Regions from separate parts of the Homo sapiens genome. Here region 1 is linked to region 2. Evidence: promoter capture Hi-C in human tissues and cell types (Jung and others, 2019). All regions are on one chromosome and are shown on one strand. The core of a region is centred on a gene start or on the middle of the fragment in contact, and the rest is flanking DNA. Distances in the headings are between cores, read along the strand shown. Region 1 overlaps FNDC3A (fibronectin type III domain containing 3A). Region 2 holds the start of EBPL (EBP like).

Region 1 (7,180 bases), core at 3,781-6,280, 700 kb before region 2:
GGATAAAATATTCGACATGTAATAGACAAAATTAATATTCAAGGTATATAAGGTGTACCTACAAATCAATATGAAAAAGATAACCTGATAGAAAATGGGAAAGAATGTAAGCAGGAAATTTATAGAGGTAGAAATATAGGTAGCCTGTTAAGTTTTGAAGGAATACTATTGAACCGAATATAAATAGCTTCATCTTTTTAGGAGAAAAGTTTGGCAGTATCTATCCATTTCAAATGTACGTTCTCCTGAGCCAGAAGTTTTATTTCTATATGTCTGTAATATAGAAATGCTATCATTCATTAATAGAGAGTATTGCATGATTATTCCATGCAGAGGAGAAAATGTATGATGGGAAACTGGAAGTAATAAGATCATCATTAGAACAGTTAAATTATGGTGTGCCCTTACACTATAATATTAGATACTTATGAAAAAACATGAAATAGACATAGATGTACTTCTTAAGATATTTTACATGAAAGGGCGAGATACAATATAATACATACACAAAGACACAATTCATACACACACAAAAAAAATACAATACACAAAAGCAGTGTATGTGATTTCACTTACATAACAACCAATCCCAGAAAACCTAACACACAGGTAAGCACAGAGAAAAAGACTGGAAGGGTACACCACAGTTGTTAGCTATAGAAATAGGAGTTGGATTAGGGATCAGGAAAGAGTTAAAAACAATGTTTGTATGTGTATTTTCAAGTATAAGCAAGTACAGCCTTTGTGATATAACAAACATAACAACACATGCAAGGCTTTGTTATGATTGGTCCTGATTAGGACCATTCCTCCTGGGTGGACAGCTTTGATTTATGTCGGTTTTCCCTGCGTAATTTTTAATAGCACTTCCTTTCACTTGCAGAAGCTTCCCAGTTGGTGTCTGAAGTCATTGGTGTTTTTAGAAATAGCAATTTCTGTATAGTGTTGGATCTGAAACTGTGTTAAAGTGGGTTAAAGAAGTGAGAATTCTACCAGTGATTCTTAACCTCTATAACTACAACTGCCAACCAAGACAAAATAAAGTGCTTTTTATTTTCAGAGTTTCTGTTATAAAAACACTTTGCTTTTTTAAATATAAAGTTATAATTTCGAATGTAGTTTTTTTAAAGTCCCATATGTCTGGATATTTTGATCCTCCCCTTTAATATTAAAACCTAATATTTCAAGACAGTTAATGATAGAGGTCAAGAGAGGAATCAGAAGCTTAAGAGGAAGACAGAGTAAGGAGAAGGAAGTTGTTTTTTTTTTTTTTTTTTTTTTTTTTTTGAGGCGGAGTCTTGCTCTGTCGCCCAGGCTGGAGTGCAATGGCGTGATCTCGGCTCACTGCAACCTCCGCCTCCCAGGTTCAAGAGATTCTCCTGCCTCAGCCTCCTGAGTAGCTGGGACCAGAAGCACGTGCCACCACACCCGGCTAATTTTTTGTATTTTTTAGTGGAAACGGGGTTTCACCATGTTGGTCAGACTGGTCTCAAACTCATGACCTCATGATCCGCCCACCTCAGTCTCCCAAAGTGCTGGGATTACAGGCGTGAGCCACTGCGCCTGGCCCGGAAGGTTTTTTTAAAAAGAAGTTGAAGGAAGATGAGTATGATTAGAGGCAATCTTTAACCAAGGCATAGTTGTAGATTTATAAACAAAGAATCTGGTCATCTCAGAAAGGACTACTTTAAGGACTACTGGATTCTGCAGACAAATCTACTTATAGGAAATAAAGAAATGTTACTTGATTTTATTATGATAAAATTATTTTGGAGGAATTAGTGAAGGAAACATGTTAATATGGTTAAGTTATAGTAATACAGTAGCTTTTACACAGGAACTCAAACTTTCTGTTGTGAATTTAGTTACCAATGTATTACTGTGGCCAGAAAATATTCAGAAACTACAGGTTTAATCTTCAGTCCAAAAATCACACCAATGGATTTGAAGTTCTACAAGAGCAAAGTTAACAATCTATAATATAAAAACTAAAGTTTTATATAATACTTCTAAAAAGGACAGTAAAATATTTGGAAGTGAAAATAGGATTGTCCCAGGTGTAGTTGCCTTTTGGCTCTAAAGGGTAGCCTATGTGCTCCAAAGACACTAGACAGCTAGAGCTATATGTGGAACTTAAGAAGATGTTACTTGAAAGAAAAACTGATCTATGTGCACACTATCAGTCCTTTAATGGACTGGGGTTCGTTTCTTGGAAGCAGTTCTTTCTCTCTTGTTTCCATAGTTTCCTGACTGGAAGTATCTTTTTGATCAAGATTTCCTTTGAAGTCTATTTTAACAGGATTTTCATGTTAGTATTAAGGTATAATTTCTTAGTGGGAGAATGGGGGCTGTATCTCCTAAATGTCTAATTAAATTTAAATTTAGTATATCTGACTAAGAAGGGTGAGGATGGTGGCTTGAATGCCCTCTTCCCTTTTAAACCTTTCTTCACTTAAGGGACATGAAAGAGTGAGGCTTATCCATCCGACCAACACTACTCTTTCCTTCTTTCCAGTGGATGTGGGATTGGAGAAGAATAAGATAAATAAGTTACAGTAAATTTGTTGCTAACAATCTGTGTAAATTATTGATTTCTTTGTAAGTGTATGAACACTTTCATTAGGTTAAATTGTTGATATTTTAAAGTTTTTGACCTCAGTGGCAGTTTCATATGGTTTGACCTATTGCATTATGAAACTATGGCTATAATCACTGCCCTGTATATAAAAATGTTATGGCACTTAAACAAAAATACATTATAACTTATTTAAATAGCATAAATTTGTGCGTGCTTTGGCAGCACATATACTAAAATTGGAACGATGCAGAGAAGATTAGCATGGCCCCTGTGCAAGGATGACACACAAATTCATGAAGCGTTCTGTATTTTTCAGACTCTAAACCAACAAAGATAAAAAAAGACAAAGAAGGGCATTACATAATAGTAAAGGGCTGAATGCAACAAGAAGAGCTAACTCTCATAAATATGTATGTGCCCAATACAGGAGCACCCAGATTTATAAAGCAAGTTTTTAGAGACCTACAAAGAAGCTTAGACTCCCACACAGTAATAGTGGGAGACTTTTAACACCCCACTGTCAGTATTAGATCAACGAGACAGGAAATTAACAAGGATATTAAGGACTTGAACTCAGCTCTGGATCAAGTGGACTTAACAGACATCTACAGAACTCTCCACCCCAAAGCATAAATTCATAAACAGTACATCACTGATGAAATGTCAACATCCAAGCCAAATTGGAATGTTCATGAATACACCTACTTTAGCAACAGGTAAAGCCAAAAATATTGTTACTGCAGATATGTATCATTATACATTAAAGGGTTAAACAACCTTCTCCAGAATCTAAATTGCATATGAGAATGATAAAAGCCATAATATAGTAATTTATAATTTAAAAGCTTGTAGTATGGCCAGGTGCTTGGCTCACACTTAATAGTCCCAGGACTTTGGGAGGCTGAGGTGGGAGGATTGCTTGATATAAGGAGTTTGAGACCAGCCTGAGCAACATAGCAAGACCTTGTTTTTACTAAATAATAAGTAAATAAGTAAGTAAGCCAGGCATGGTGGCACATGCCTGTAGTTCCAGCTACTTTGGAGGCTGAGGTGGGAGAATTGCTTAAGCCCAGGAGCCTGCAGTGGGCCATGATTGTGCCACTGCACTCCAGCCTGGGTGAGAGAGTGAGAACTTGTCTCAAAAAAAAAAAAAAAGATAAGAAAAAGCTTATAGTAATTTATAAGTTAAAGCTATCAGACATGAAAACCTTAAGTGTTCAGCAAAGTATGGATAAACATATACATTTAAGGAAACTACACAGGGCTGGAGAAAGAGCCAACTAAAAAGATTGTATATAGAACAGTATCCAAGCTCACACAGGGCCAGAAGAAGTGCCTGTTTCCACTAGCTAGAACAGAAAGCCTCATAATTCACAAGGCATTCAGTAGAGTACTCTGGAGGGTTTTGCATTAGTAGTGGGGAAAAATTAATTACATATTAAATGCAGCTCTGTTCTTGCCTAATCCATCGTAAAAGCAAGTCCCAAAGAGTCAAACTTTGTCCGAGTCCCTTAGCCACATGTTATAACAAATCTCCAGATTATTTATGGAAATACAAAAATATCCAACAGCCAACAAGATAAAGTTAACAGTATCTTACATGCAGTTCAAATTACTGAGTCTGCAAAGAAGCAGGAAAATACAAACCATATTGAGAAAAATTAATCACTTGAAATTGGCCTTCAAATGATACTGATGATGATAGTCATTAAAACAGTTATGACTGTTGGAGAAGCTAACAAAAAGATTGAACATGTTAAATAGAGATACTGTCTGATTAAAATTACGTGTCAAAGACATACTACATTAATGGCATGTTAGACTTTGTCAAAGAAAAGATAAGTGTACATGAAGATACAGCAATAGAAACTATCCAAAATGAAGCACAGAAGAAAATAGAATTTGGAGACAATAACTGAAAAAGTATTTGAAGAAATAATGGCTATTTTCCAAAATAGATATAAACTATAAACCAATAAGCACAATAAGCATAAGAAAGATGAATAAAACTCTGCTAAAACACATCATAATCAAATCACTTAAAGATAACTTTTTTTTTTTTTTTTGAGACAAAGTCTCGCTCTTTTGCCAGGCTAGAGTGCAGTGGCACAATCTTGGCTCACTGTAACCTTCGCCTCCCAGGTTCAAGCGATTCTCCTGCTTCAGCCTCCCGAGTAGCTGGGATTACAGGTGCATGCCACCATGCCCAGCTAATTTTTGTATTTTTAGTAGAGATGGAGTTTCACCATGTTGGCCAGGATGGTCTCCATCTCTTGACCTCGTGATCCGCCCACCTTCGCCTCCCAAAGTGCTGGGATTATAGGCGTGAACCACCGTGCCTGGCCCATAAAGGAAATCTTAAAAGCAGCCAAAGAAAAACAGAACAAAGATAAGGGTGACATCAGATCTGTCATTAGAAGCAATGTAAGCTAGAAGACAATGAAGCAATATCTTTAAAACATTTTTTTGCAAAAACTGTCAACCTGGGACTTTTTACCCAAACTGTCTTTCAAAATAAAGGCAAAATAAAGATTTCAAATATACAAAAGCTGAAATAATTTATCACTTTCATTTATGAACTAAAAGACATGTTAAATAGAGTCCTTCAAGCAGAAGGAAAATTAAACCACATGGAAACTTGGCCACAAGGAGTTTAGAGTACTGGAAGTGGTAACTATCTGGGCAAATATATAGGATTTAAAAAAAATTATTATTTGAATATCTTTAAAAGACAAATGACTGTTTAATATAAAAATGATGACAGTTGCCAGGTGTGGTGGCTCGTGCCTGTAATCCCAGCACTTTCGGAGGCCAAGGCAGGCAGATTGCTTCAGCCCAGGAGTTTGAGACCAGCCTGGGCAACATGGTGAAATCCTGTCTCTCCAAAAAAAAAAAAAAAAAAAAAAAATTAGCCAGGCATGGTGGTGCATGCTTGTAGTCACAGCCGCTCGGAAGGCTAAGTTGGGAGGATCGCTTGAACCCAGGAGGCGGAGATTGCAGTGAGCTGAGATCACACCACTGCATTCTAGCCTGGGCAATAGAGACCCTGCCCTCCCCTAAAAAATGACAACATGAGGTTTAAAACATGTAAAAGTAAAATATACAATAATAGCAAAAATCCCAGAGAAATTGCAGATTTATTGTTGTAAGGTTCTGATACATATTCCTGAAGTAGTGTATTACTTGAAGGTATACAGTAATAAGTAAAACATGTGTATTGTAAATTTTAAAGAAACCACTCAAGTAACAAAGAGTTGTAGCCTATAAATCAACAAGAGAGAGGGGATGGTATAATAGGAAATAATTCAAAATGAAGCAGATGAAGAGGGAAAAGGGGACAAAGAACATTTGAAACAAATAGCAAGATGGTGATGTAAATCCAGTCGTATCAACAATCACATTACATATAAATGGCCTAAACACCACAATTAAAAGTCAGGGATTGTTGGATACAATTTTTTAAAATTAAGACCCAAATATTTCACATCTACAAGAAATCCACTTTAAGTGAGTTAAAAGGATGGAAAAAGATATGCCATGCTTACACTATCCAAAAGAAAACTGAAATCAGTAAGTTAAACCAGAAGTTAGGTTACAGAACAAAGAATTCTTACCAGAGATAAAGAGGATTATTTCATACTAGTAAAGGGATTAATTAAGAGGGCATGCAATTATAAATATGCATCTAGTATAGGAACTGGCCTGGGGGCAGTGGCTCATGTTTGTAATCCCAGCTCTTTGGGAGGCTGAGGGGGTTGAATCAGTTGAGTCCAGGAGTTCGAGACCAGCCTGGGCAATGTGGTGAAACTACGTCTCTACAAAAAAATACAAAAATTAGCTGGGTGTGGTGGCACACGCCTGTAGACCCAGCTACTAGGAAGGCTGAGGTGGGAGGATTGCTTGAACCTGGGAGGTTGAGGCTGCAGTGAGCTATGCTCACACCACTGCACTCCAGCCTGAGTGACACAGCAAAACCCTGTCTCAAAAAAAAGAAAAAAGGAAAAAAAAAAGAGAGAGAATGTTTCTGAATATATGCTGGAACTGCAAAGAGAAATACAGATGCTCTTTAATTCATGATGAGGTTATGTCTCAATAAACCCACCTGGTTAAAATATGTCAGAAATGAGTTTAATTCACCTAACCTACTGAACATCGTAGCTTAGCCTAGCCTATCTTAAATGTGCTCACAACACTTACATTATCATATGGTTGATGAACAAAATCATCTAACACAAAGCCTATTTTATAATAAAGTGTTGAATGTCTCGTGTAATTTATCGAATACTGAAAAGTGGAAAACCGAATGCTTGTATGGATACTTGATGTATGGTTTCTACTAAATGTGTATCTCTTTTGCTCCATCATAAAGTCCAAAAATTGTAAGTTGAACCATCACAAGTTGGGGATTGTCTGTATACAAATAATGCAATTTTAGCAGAGATTTCAATACCCCTCTCAATGGAAAGTAGAAAGAATGTAAAGCCTAAAACTATGAAATTTCTTAAAACAGGAGAAAATCTCTGTGACCTTGCATTAGGTGATTTCTTAAGTATAGCATTGAAAGCACCATTCATAAAATGACAAATCGATAAATTGTACTTT
Region 2 (7,009 bases), core at 3,218-5,717:
CTGGTCTCGCAACTCCTAGCCTCAAGCAATCCTGCCTCGGCCTCCCAAAGTGCTTATTACAGGTGTGAGCCACTGCCCAGCACTATTCTCTCTTAACTGCACACGAGGACCCCCGACTCATAGTTCTAAAGCCAGATTTTGCTGTCTTAGTTAACATGATCACCATTACCCATGTTGCTCAGGGCCTAAGCCCCAAGATCATGTCCACCCCCAATCTACAAGTGGCCACTTTGACTTACCACATTCTCCCCTGGAAAGTCTCTCACAGTTAGCTTTCCTCCCCATTTTAAGTTCCAACACCACCTCAGCTTGCCTCTCTCTTTTTTTTAAATGACTCCCCACACTACAGCAGTTGCTTTTTGTTGCTCTTCTTGCCCCTCAACTCCATCCTTTCCAATCCAACCTGCACCATGTTGAGAGACAATTCTCCATGAATATCTCACATCCTGCACTGTCTGGGTCTCTGAGCAAAGACATTTATATCAATTTTAAGAATGTTTCTATAATGAGCCTTTCCAGAGTAGTAAACCTGGGAGACAGCTCCCTCCAGAGAGGTTCTAGGGTGGTAAAGATCAAGACCTCACCTTCTCCTCCTCAGAGGTTTACATTCCTAAGATAAGGTCTCTCCAGAGAGAAGTATGGACAGGCCACCACCAGCTCACAATAAGATGGACGCGTAGTTCTGGAGTTCCTTTCTTGTAACGCATCCCACTGCATGTACAGGCAGTAACATCTGGCCTTCATTATGTTGTCCTGTGGGGTTTGGGCCTTGGGGAATCAAACTGGACTACCTTGTTAACTTCTAAGTTGGGTAAAATCTCGGACGCTAGAGTTTCTGACTTAACACATCACCACTAAATTATCTTTATGAAGATCTGCTTTGGCCACGTGACTTCCCTGCTTGAAATCCTTCAGTGGCTTCTCACTACAGAATACAATTCTTACCTGTCACCTTTCCAGCTGGTCCTCCCACTTCTTATGTAAACCCTGTGCTCCTGTCAATCTGGACTACAGGATGTGTTCCATACACAGGCATTCATATCTTGCCTCATGTTTCTGGCCATGCCTGAATGCTATACATAGATTGCAGAAGAGATAAAATTTTATCCATGAAGCACCAGTGCCTAGGCTGCCCACAGCGACCTCAGAATGGTGACCCCACCATTTCCTTCTTCTAGTATGTTGCCATGGCTCCTTCCAGGTAGGCTGATGGGAAGTCAGCCTGCCCTCTGCTGTAGTCATAACGAGCTGAACTGATGACCAGTGCTGGGGCCCAAGGTGACTGCACTCTGGTTGGACATCTGGGAAATGAACTGCCCCTGGGAATGCTTGGCTTGAAACTGTCCAACAGGATAGCTTTCAATTTGATGGCAGCCAAAAAACCTACAGAGCTCCTCTCTTTAAGAAGTGTCAGGGGGTGGCCAGGCGCAGTGGCTCACGCCTGTAATCCCAGCACTTTGGAAGGCCGAGGCAGGTAGATCACGAGGTCAGGAGATCGAGACCATCCTGGCTAATATGGTGAAACCCCGTCTCTACAAAAAATACAAAAAATTAGCCGGGCGTGGTGGCGGGTGCCTGTAGTCCCAGCTACTCAGGAGGCTGAGGCAGGAGAATGGCGTGAACCCGAGAGGCGGAGCTTGCAGCGAGCCGAGATTGCGCCACTGCACTCCAGTCTGGGTAATAGAGCGAGACTCCGTCTCAAAAAAAAAAAAAAAAAAAAAGAAGTGTCGGGTTAAGGAGAGGCAACTCATCTTCTAGTGAACAAGTGAGTTTTAATTTTGGTTCTCCCCTAAGCTCTACATCTTAGTCTTAGCTTGTCCCACACTTCTGGGTATTCTTGCAATAAACTCCCAAGCAAAGACAACATGGGCATGTATTTTCTTGCAGCCTCAACTGCTTAATTCAAGTGCTCTCCCCACTGATCTCTGAGACACATGTACAAAGACGTTGGTAGATGCATTGTTTGTAATGACAGAAAAATGTGTCCACTAATATGGGCTGGTTAAGTGATCGTATTCATCAAATATAAGATACATCCCAATTTAGAGACATTAAAATATCAATCAAATGGCCTACAGTAGTTACATGATGTAGTTGATTCTTCTAATATGTGAAAAAATGTGGGTCTTAGACTTGGAGAACTAAGGTATGGTGTATTCACACAGTGGACTACTTTGCAGCTGGGGTAGGTAATGGCACAAAAGGAGGTGTGTGTCGTGTTACCTGTAACAACCTGAGCTTGAAAAGTAAACAGTCTTAAACCAAGTGGTGAACACACGCATATAGTTTAAGTATTTTTACAGCTTTTTGTTTGTCTAAGGTATGTTAAACATTTTTCTTTTTTTTCCCAAGATAGAGTCTTGCTCTGTTGCCCAGGCTGGAGTGCAGTGGCTTGATCATGGCTCACTACAACCTCCACCTTCCAGGTTCAAGCAATTCTCCTGCCTCAGCCACCCGGGTAGCTGAGATTATGGGCACCGTCACCACACCTGGCTAATTTTTGTATATTTAGTACAGACGGGGTTTCACCATGTTGGCCAGGCTGGTCTTGAACTCCTGACCTCGTGATCCACCCGCCTCAGCCTCCCAAAATGCTGGGATTACAGGCATGAGCCACTGTGTCCGATATGTTATACATTTTTATATATATACATTCTGATATGCTATATACAGTTATACCCAGCCAATATGTTACACAGTTTTCTCTCACTGGGCCTAGCAACATTTTTGTTATGTTATACATTTTGTTATACATTTTTTCTAACCGGGCCTAGCAATCTGCTTTATCTCCCTTGTTCTGTGGGAAACCTTGTGTTCAAGTGATAGCTTAAAAATCAATTCTCGGCTGGTGGCGGTGGCGGTGGCTCACGCCTGTCATCCCAGCACTTTGGGAGGCCAAGGTGGGCAGATCATCTGATGTTAGGGGTTTGAGACCAGTCTGGCCAACATAGTGAAACCTCATCTCTACTAAAAACACAAAAATTAGCTGGGCGTGGTGACGGGCGCCCGTAATCCCAGCTACTCGGGAGGCTGAGGCAGGAGAATAGCTTTAACCCAAGGGGCGGAGGTTGCAGTGAGCCGAGATAGTGCCACTACACTCCAGCCTGGGCAACAGTGTTAGACTCTGTCTCAAGAACAACAACAAAAAAAAAGACAAAAAAAAAAAAAAAGAATTCTATAAATAAAGGAGTTGAGAGAAACATTCACTGTCCCTTATCTCTACATGTTGATTATCAGAATAAAAAGAATTCCAGCAACATCAGTCATGGGCACAAAGCCAACCCGTAAACATTTACAGAACTCGATGATTACCCAAAACTCGGCTTGCTTTCTCAATACTACTGACTTTGGCTTCACATTAGCCACAGGTGTGTCTAGAGTTAAACAAGGTCAACTTTACAAAAAAAAAAAAAAACAAACTGATACTTGGGCATAGTTTAAAAAAAACTTAAAAGTGTGTGTGTGTGTGTGCGTGCGCGTGTGTGGTGGGGGGCGGGGCATTTCAATATAAATGCCTTAAACACAACCTTCCTGGCTATTTTATAAAATGGGTTGAATCTCTAAGGACACATATTTCCTAAGACCTCGACTGATACACAGAGTGCAAACTTGGGAGCCAGACTAGACTGCCTCAGAATCATGCCAGCTGTGTGGCACTGGAAAGTCACCTAATTTTGCAGCGCCTACCTTCACCTCTGTAAAATGGGGAACAATAATAACTAATTTATGGATGCTGTAAAGATCTGAAATTTTAAACTCAGTAATGCGCCTGGCACACATTAGACACGGGTGTTTCGTTTGTCTTGGCAAAGGCTTCGGGTTTTGCGACAATAGCCTTGCTGCCTCCGGAGCAAGCATCTCTCCTTGCCCCCTCTGGGGCATTTAAAAATGACCTCAATTCTACTCTCAATTATGTCCAGTTCAACAGTTACGTGCAGGTTACAAAGCCGAGGAAGCTGAGGTATCTTCTAAACTAACATAGCACGTACAGAATTTTTTTAAAGTTTGGTGGAGGAATCGGCAGCACAAGGTAAGCTGCGCTCTGTTCACAGACCTGGGAATCAGAACTCCGGCCGCCGCGGCCTCCAGGCGCCTCTCAGCTAACAGACTTCCTGCAGCAGGGGGAGGGGCGGCCAGCTCGCTGCAAAAAGCCGCAGGACCCCCTCACCCCGCCTTGCCGCCCCCGCTCCCACTCTCTGGGATGGGGAGTGCAGGGTCTAGGCGATGGCACTTACCAGCGCGAAGTGCACCAGCGCGTCGTAGCAGAGCCAGATGAGCGCCCCGCGGTCCGCCGCCCCCTGCCCGCGGCCCAGGCGCAGGCCCAGGGCGCAGCCCGCCGCCAGCAGCGCGGCGCACAGCAGCAGCGAACCGCCAGCCTCGGCCCCCAGCTCCCACTCAGCGCCCATGCTTCAGGCTTCCGACGCCAACGGCCCAGGACCATGCGGCAGAGGAAAGCAGGGAGAGAAACGACGGGGCGGGGCTGGCCGGGAAGGGGCGGAGCCGGATGGCCAAGGAGGAGCGGAGCTGATTGGCCAAGGCGGTCCGGGGAGGGACGGGGCTCCCCGGCCGGGTCGGGGCCAGAGCGAGGATTCCGTGCCCGCCTCGCACCCTGGCCAGCCTGCTGAGTCCGGTGGTTTTGCCAGGTGCCGCCCATGGAGGTTCCGTAGAAGGAACGTGCTCACCAACTTGCGCAACCGCCTCGACCAAACCTGTTCCCAAACCGAGCCCAAAGGATTGGTAATAGGGCCACACCTTTTGATGTTGTTTCGCTTTTAACAAGGCTCAAACTTTAAGCCACAAAGTGAAGCCTAGGTAGTGGAAATTTTGCCAGTAGACCGGGGCAGAATTTTAGGGGCAAAAGGTTTTAATTAGGCTGCAGCAAGCCTTACCAGGGAGGCTGGGGGCCAAGGGAGTTTTCAGCCACCAGCCGGCTTAAAGCCTTTATGGCCTACTCTGACAATCTTTCCATTTCTTAAAAATCCAGAAAAGTAGAAGGGTGGGTGAGAGGAGCGGTAAGTCCTATTGGCTTGGCGATAGATGCGTTTAACCTGTGGCAGGCCAGGTTTCACTATCGCAGGCCTCCATCACAACTGCTTCAGCACTGAGTGGTTAAATTAAATATTAAAAGCTGAGGCCGGGCGCGGTGGCTCACGCCTGTAATCCCAGCACTTTTTGCCAAGGCGGGCGGATCACGAGGTCAGGAAATCGAGACCATCCTGGCTAACACGGCGAAACCACGTCTCTACTAAAAATACAAAAAATTAGCCGGGCGTGGTGACGGGCGCCTGTAGTCCCAGCTACTCCGGAGGCTGAGGCAGGAGAATGGCGTGAACCCGGGAGGCGGAGCTTGCAGTGAGCCGAGATCGCGCCACTGCACTCCAGCCTGGGCAACAGAGCGAGACTCCGTCTCAAAAAACAAAAAAAAAATTAAAAGCTGAAAGAGTCAGTGCCCATATACCAAAGTCTGGAATGTAACAAAAGCCCACCAAGAGTTTTGCCTAGGCCTTTCTTGGGCCTTGAAGCATGACAAGATAACTAAGGAATTTTTAACAGGACCCGTTTAGGATTAAACAAGTTTTATTGGGGGTCTGAAGAAACTCCCCAGGCCTCCAAAAACAAGTTTATTGGGAGTCTGGAGGAATTCCACAAGCCTCCATGATTTAGCAAGAGACAAAATAAGGGTAATCATCCCAGCACCCAGACCTATTTAGATTAAGTAAATTTACTGAGGCTCCAGAGGAAGGTCTTCAGGATTAGAAGTTGTTAATCACTTACGTCTTTAGATGAATGCACTCTTACACGTAGACATATAGCTTAGAAGGTATATACGCTCTGGAAAAACTTTGTAATTATGAGTTGGTCTGGCAATAATTTCCAGACCTTCTCCCTGTAACCGGTTGCAGAAATAAAAACTCTTCTTCCCCAGTTCATCTGCACCTCATTATTGGGCTGCCCAACCCCCAGTTTGGTCCGGGAACAAACCTACATTATTTAACATCACAACAACCCTATGAGGTCGGTGAAATAAGCCAGTCACAAAAACATACTTATGATTCCACTTACAGGAAATATCTAAAATAATCAATTTGCAGAAACAAAATAGAATGATGGTTACCAGGGGTGGGGCGGGGCGGGAGTGGGGGGGGGGCGCGGGGAAAAGTGGAGTGTTATTTATTCGGATAGTTTGATTTGCAAGATGATGTTCTGGAGATTGGTTGCACAACAACGTGAACATACTTTACTGAGCTGCACACTTAAAAATGGTTAAGATGGCAAATTTTATGTGTATTTTACAGTTATTAAAAAAAATGCTGGCACTGAACACAAGAAATTTTTCCCTTAGTCACTTCCTATACCATTTTTTATAGCAGTTAACACCAGATAGAATGATCCTTGTTTACACACTTATTGCTAATCTCCTGCCACTATAATGTAAGTCTTCAAGGCCAGGGGTTGTGGCTAGCTTTTTTATTGCTGTATCCCTGGCACCTATTACAGAGTTTGGCATATATTAGCTGCTCAGTTAAATAACTGGCGACTGAGTATGGTCAATCTAGCCACCTATGCTCTGGATCCTGTCCTGTAACTAACTTATCATCCTTTAGGGACCACTCGGCCCACCTCCCCTTCAGAGCAAAATAGAAACTTAATGAAAAAACTGATCAGATCCCCTGTCTTCATGTCTTGACCCTGCTCCTCAGTCCTTTCTACTCTGGTTTCTGCCTTATCACACTGATATAGCTCTCACTAAGGTGACTACTGGCCTCCACATCACTGAACCCCAAGAACAGTTCATTTTCTTAGTGTAGTTTACTTCTCAGCAGCATCCCAGCACTGAAATATTTTTCCTTTGGTTTTCTGAGAATACAGCCTCCTTAGCCATTCTGTTTCCTTTGCAAGTGCATCTTCCACTACAAATGCCTAGTGAATGCTGCAGCTCCACAACCCAGTCCTCGGCCCTGTTCTCACTCCAGACCCCAAATCCAGGCAGTCTCATCCTTACCCTCTG

Evidence for each region. Contacts are between HindIII fragments. The study calls those that stand out against the background at their distance.
Region 1: a fragment that was not itself captured here is called in contact with the fragment with the promoter of EBPL in region 2 in 1 of the 25 tissues and cell types used here (spleen).

Annotation. Positions count from the first base shown.
Region 1 is chr13:48,985,127-48,992,306 of GRCh38, forward strand. The region is part of intron 1 of FNDC3A (fibronectin type III domain containing 3A); the gene reads left to right. It also overlaps the pseudogene RNU6-60P. Among named protein-coding and RNA genes, the nearest start is that of FNDC3A, 13 kb to the left of the region's middle. The HindIII fragment of the contact is 5,787 bases long and covers 2,138-7,180 here.
Region 2 is chr13:49,687,019-49,694,027 of GRCh38, forward strand. It overlaps EBPL (EBP like), which reads right to left and starts at 4,468. Exons shown (of 4, transcript NM_032565.5): 1 at 4,236-4,468. The coding sequence starts at 4,406. RefSeq lists an enhancer at 3,763-4,760 and silencers at 4,224-4,363, 4,394-4,593. The HindIII fragment of the contact is 15,697 bases long and covers 1-7,009 here.